Regions from separate parts of the Homo sapiens genome. Here region 1 is linked to region 2. Evidence: promoter capture Hi-C in human tissues and cell types (Jung and others, 2019). All regions are on one chromosome and are shown on one strand. Each heading gives the region's core, a stretch centred on a gene start or on the middle of the fragment in contact. The rest is flanking DNA. Distances are from core to core; before and after follow the strand shown.

Evidence for each region. The method cuts DNA at HindIII sites, captures the fragments that hold promoters and counts their contacts. A contact is called where the count stands out against the background at its distance.
Region 1: a contact is called between a fragment that was not itself captured here and the fragment with the promoter of MNT in region 2, in 1 of the 25 tissues and cell types used here (adrenal gland).

What each region holds. Positions count from the first base shown.
Region 1 is chr17:1,879,526-1,882,225 of GRCh38, reverse strand. RPA1 (replication protein A1) reads right to left here. Exons shown (of 17, transcript NM_002945.5): 11 at 2,527-2,666; 12 at 1,535-1,683. Among named protein-coding and RNA genes, the nearest start is that of RPA1, 51 kb to the right of the region's middle. The HindIII fragment of the contact is 3,965 bases long and covers 1-2,700 here.
Region 2 is chr17:2,399,709-2,402,408 of GRCh38, reverse strand. MNT (MAX network transcriptional repressor) reads left to right here and starts at 1,349. Exons shown (of 6, transcript NM_020310.3): 1 at 1,349-1,769. The coding sequence starts at 1,697. RefSeq lists enhancers at 1-382, 754-803, 2,094-2,664, 2,665-2,700 and silencers at 104-423, 1,074-1,383, 1,574-1,653, 1,804-1,863, 2,384-2,700. The HindIII fragment of the contact is 14,706 bases long and covers 1-2,700 here.

The DNA.
Region 1 (2,700 bases), core at 191-2,690, 520 kb after region 2:
CACACATCAATTGATATGAAGGAAAAGGGGCCAAGGAGAAAGTGGCTCGGGAACACAGTGGTGGCGGAGAGGAGCTGGCCGGAGATGAAAGGCCAAATACCATCCCAAGGTGGGTAACCACACAAAGAACAGGTTCCTTAAACAGAGACCATCTAACAGAATGGATGTTACCCTGAGCTGCAGACAGCTGCCTTCTCCTGTCAGGTAAGCGGCTAAATCCCTCACAGGGGCACAGCAAGGCCCATCCATCTGTTTCACCACTACTAGCTACACAAGTTCACGGTTTCAAAAGCTCCAAGGAGACATTTGCCACCAAAGATCACTCGTCAGGAGTCAAGGCGGCCCTTCTTACAATAAAAACTCTGCATTGTTATAGCCAAGATCTAAACATCTCTAATCCTTGTCCAGGTATCATGTATGCACTGAGCTTGTCTTTGATCAATGCCAAGTTATTTTATTCTGGGGACAGCCGTGCTTTTTATGTTGACTGGGATCATGATTATTGACAAGTAAAAGATGAAGACATTAATGTGGGAATGCAATTTTAATGTGGGAATGCGATTTTAATGTGGGAATGCAATTAACCTGGAGTCGAACTCCAGAGCCTAAAAGAAAATCAAGCAATAAGAAAAAAGCAAATCTGTGGCTAGTTCTGGTCAGACTATGAACGGGCCCTGCAGTTCGGCAGATACGTGTGGACCGTACTACTCATGAGGATGGCTCAGTGACATGAACATTCCAGAAGATGCTTCATGAAACTGGTCAAACACCAGTGCCATTGGTTTAAATGACTCAAAACAAAGGAGGAGTATGTAAAATGAGCTCATTCTTTAGCTGCTTAAATCCTAAGACACAGCTGGAAACTGACACACTTCCCCCCCATAGACTACAGCTATGGGAATTATTGAAGCTTGGGTGAAAGTGTTTTCCCTGACCACATCAATTCTTGCATCCTGTGTCTCAGTTTGAAGTACTCTTTTAAGACAGAGTTTGAATGTCCTAAAAAGCTAGATACAGTGAGGAGATTTTAACAGGCTCTCCTCATCCCTTGAGTGCTTTGGGAATAACAATCTAATCCTAACAAAAAGCCCATTGTTCTCACCACACTTGATCAGAGTCTAGTGAATACACACTAGAAGATGTGATCGGCACCAAAGACTTGACAGAGAAAGAAAGCATGTGTTCCCCCACGCCACAGAGGCCCAGAGCCTAAACCCTGGAAAGAAAGGCGCCTTCAGCACACCGCTGCTGAAGCCTGGCCGTCCCCTCCTTTGGCAGGATCGAGGTCAGCAGGCAGCACTTACATGCTAATTGCCTCCTCCGACTCTCTAGGTTTGTCCTGGGATTACAGGTTTGTCCGTTTAAGGGCTTTAAAGCCCTCCTCACAGAAGGCATAATGCCTTCAAGAAACACGGAAGCTGCACCACTCAGGGACGAAGGCTTCTGCTTGGCAGAAAGCTCCCATGCTGATTGTAACCAGCTTTTCTCAAAGCCCAGCCTCAAGTAACCCTTTGTTTAGCCCCACAAAACCTACCATCCACGAAGCTTATAGGCCTCTGGGATGTCAGGATTCGCAATGATAGTGCTTGAAGACAGCACGGAGAGGCTCCGTCCACCGAAATCAGAGACTCGGGCTCCTTTGATAGCCAACACGGGCTGTCTAGAACCATCAAATTTATCAGCCTGTAAAAGAAACACCAGACATATACAAGTGTCACTAGCAGGAAGAACACAGAAGATTTTTATAGAAAACAAGGCAAACATTCAATAGTAGAGTGAATGTAATCAGCGTACATGGAATCCATACAAGACAGACCTCACACATGAGAATCTACTCAGAGACACATCAAAACTATCACTGCTTTCCTAGAGTTAGGGGAAAGAGCATTTCCCCGCGTAAAGCTTGAATCACAGCAAATCTCACAGAAGTAAGATAAAGGATTTTAAATACTTACCAGACAGCACAATCCTTCCCATCTACATGGTGAAAGCCCCCAACTCATAGGACAAAACCGCCCCCACGAGGAGCTCCTCCTGTGTGTGCTAACAGCCCCATCCTATAGGACAAGACGCCCCCTCCGCCAACCCCAGGAGCTCCTCCTGTGTGTGCTGAAGGCCCCATCCTATAGGACAAGACCCCTCCCTCCCCCAACCCCAGGAGCTCCTCCTGTGTGTGCTGAAGGCCCCATCCTATAGGAACAGACGCCCCCTCCGCCAGCTCCAGGAGCTCCTCCTGTGTGTGCTGAAGGCCCCATCCTATAGGACAAGACCCCTCCCTCCCTCAACTCCAGGAGCTCCTCCTGTGTGTGCTGAAGGCCCCATCCTATAGGACAAGATGCCCCCTCCGCCAACTCCTGGAGCTCCTCCTGTGTGTGCTGAAGGCCCCATCCTATAGGATAAGACCACTCCCTCCCCCAACTCCAGGAGCTCCTCCTGTGTGTGCTGAAGGCCCCATCCTATAGGACAAGACCACGCCCCAACCCCAGGAGGTCCTGTGCGTGTTGAAGACCCCATCCCAGCACTTACATCTTCCCCCCACAGTGTAGCAGTCACCACCTTCCCGGATGTGTCCATCAAGTAGATATTCCTCTTGGCAACTTCTCTGTTGTTAGACCTCACTGTGATTTTAGTGGCGTCTTCATAGCTCTTGCAGATCCCGATGATGTCTAAAACACATGCACGTGTTAGCAGGAGGTGGTC
Region 2 (2,700 bases), core at 100-2,599:
CCCCGCTTCGGGAGAGAGGAGCAGGTGGAATACGGAACGACCTTAGGCGAGTCCTTGGCCGTCACGGCCTCAGTTTCCTTATGTGTGAAGTGAGAGGATTTAAGGGCAGCCGGCCTCAAAGAGCTAACTCTCCGATTGCACCCGAGCTCCCCTAAACACTCGAGCCCGGAAGACGCGGGCGGGCGGGCGGGCGACGGGGGGTCCCTCCCTCTGGGGAGCGCGGTTCCAGCCGGCCGCAGCGGACCCCGCCCCCGCGCCCCGCCCACCGCCGGTCGCCAGGCGCGGGGAGGGCCGGGCTTCCGCCCTCCACGTTGTTGTTCCCGATTTGGGCCACGCCCCCCGGTCTGGGCTGCGGGCGCTTCGTGTTCCCCGCCCTGGCCCCGGCCCCAGAGGAAAGGGTGGCCCATGGGGTGGCACAGTCCGTATCTCCACCCACATCGAATACGCGTGGACAAAGACTGGAGTTCAGGGGAAGGAAAGATAAAGGCCTGGTTTTAAATGGAAGGTGGTGAAAAGGAATGGAGAGGCCAGGGCACGACTGCGGGATTCCCCTTACGGCATCCCACCCTGGGTTCGCCCAGTGGCCCCATCCGCACCCGCGAATGTGACCTGCAGACACTGGCCCTTTAAACCGAAGGCTGGCGGCGCGGGGTGTCCATGTGGAGCTGCTCCATGCCGTGTTGTCCTGCCCGCCCATTGGCTCGCGGCCCGGTGACGTCCCCTAATAGGATGCGAACGCACTGCGGGGGGAGGAACGGAGACAAAACGCGGAGCCGGACTGCCGCTCCGCTCCCTCCGCTGGTTCTCTTGACAGTCTCCAGTCGCCGGCAGCTCCGCCCAGGGGCGGATCCCGGGGGAATTGCGACAGCCCGGCGATTGCGGGATTTAGGTCGCGAGTGGGTGGAGCGTGGAGACCCAGGGTCAGGCCAGTCTCTGCCATTCCCAAGGTTTCCCTGACCCGGAATATCCTGGTTGGAACTCTGTTAAATCTTGAATTGTTCACCCTACCCTCCCTCCAGCAGGACAGATTTCGTCGTGAACGACCCAAACGCACCGCCCCGGCCCAACTTGTGGCTTGCAGCCGGGGCGGGGCCAGCAGGAAAGCGGAACCGCGGCGCGCACACCCCGCTCGGACCTCTCCCTCCCTGCCCGGGCCACGTGTGCGCGCGCCGGATCCGGGGGGCGGGGCCAGCAGCGCAGGACCCGCCCCTCCCTTCGCGAGACGCCGCGGCCCTGCGGGCGGGGGCTCCGGTCCGGGCTTTGGCTGTGGCCCCGGTGTAGTAGCGGGGGCGGCGGCCGGGGGCAGCGCGGCTCCTTCCCTTGTTGTGTGTGTCGGTGCCTCCTCGCCATCTTGTTGCAAAGCCCTTTCTTGTCGGCGGGACTCCCGGGGGCCGCGGGGCGGGAGGCATCGGAAGGGAGGTAGAGAGGGAGGGGAAGAAGGGAGGCAGTGCCGCCTTTTTTTTTTTTTTGCATCCCATTTTTTTAAATTTGCAATTTTATATTTTGCAAATATTTTGAGAGACATTGATTTTTCTCCCCGTGCTCCCCCGTTCTTCCCTGCGGAGTGCGCTGCGCCGCCCAGCCCTGTCGCCCCCCGGAGGTGATCCCTCCCTCCTGCCTGCCCGCCAGCCTGACCTGTGCCCGGCTCGCGGGCCGCAGCCTCGGCCCCGGCGCGCCCCCGGCAGCTCTCGGCGCGATGAGCATAGAGACGCTACTGGAGGCGGCCCGCTTCCTGGAATGGCAAGCGCAGCAACAACAGAGAGCACGTGGTGAGCGGCCGGGCTGGGCCCCTGGGGCACTGGGGAAGGGGAAGCGAGTGACCCCGGTCCCCGAACCCACGCGAAACCGCGGACAGGGCCCCCTCCCGGGCGGCCTGCGGAGCCTGGCAGCGCACGGCTCCCCGCGAGAGCCGCCGCCTGGGGAGGGGTGATGTGGGCAGTGAAATTAATTAATGAATTCATTAACATGCTGCGAGGGACCTGGCTCCTGCGGGCGCCACCCCGGCTGCGTGGCACCCCTGTGCCCCTTCTGTGGTGGGCTGCTTTTGCGTGGGCCAGCGGAGCCCTCGGTGGCACTGAGGATGTGTGAGCCGGGGGGTGGGGTGAGGAATGGTGTTGCGTGGGGGTGGCAGGCTCGCGTGTGCGTGCGTGTGTGCACGGGGGATGTGTGATGTGAGCCTCGGGAAGAGCAGATGAACGGACGTGTACACGGGCGTGTGTATAGCACACGAGTGGGCGTGTGTGTAACGGAGTGGGGGTGGGGACTACTCTACGCGGAGCAGCTCTTCGGCTTCCCTGGCCCCGTGGGGAGGGTGCGGGGGGCGCTCCCGGCAGATCTACGCGCCGCTTGGGGCGGAGGCGGCCTTTGCAGAATGAAATGACATCGCGTGTCTTATGATCCTGGCCAGCCCCGCCTGACCCCGCCTCCCAGAGCTGGGCTGGGCTGCGCGTCCGGGGTTTGGGTGAAAGCCGGGCTAATTGGGCGTTTGCGAAATGGCCCGCGGGTCGCTGGGGGTCAGCCCCCGGGCCCCCCTCGCTGCGCCCCGCTTTAGCCAGTGTGGAATGTGGCGTGTCTGCGCGTTCCAAACCCGCTCTCGCCTGGAATGTTGCGTGTGCCTGCGTTCCGAGCCCGTTGGTTACACCGGGTGGTGACGTGGACGGGCTCCGCCCCCGACCACGTGCACCGGGGACACTCCTGCTG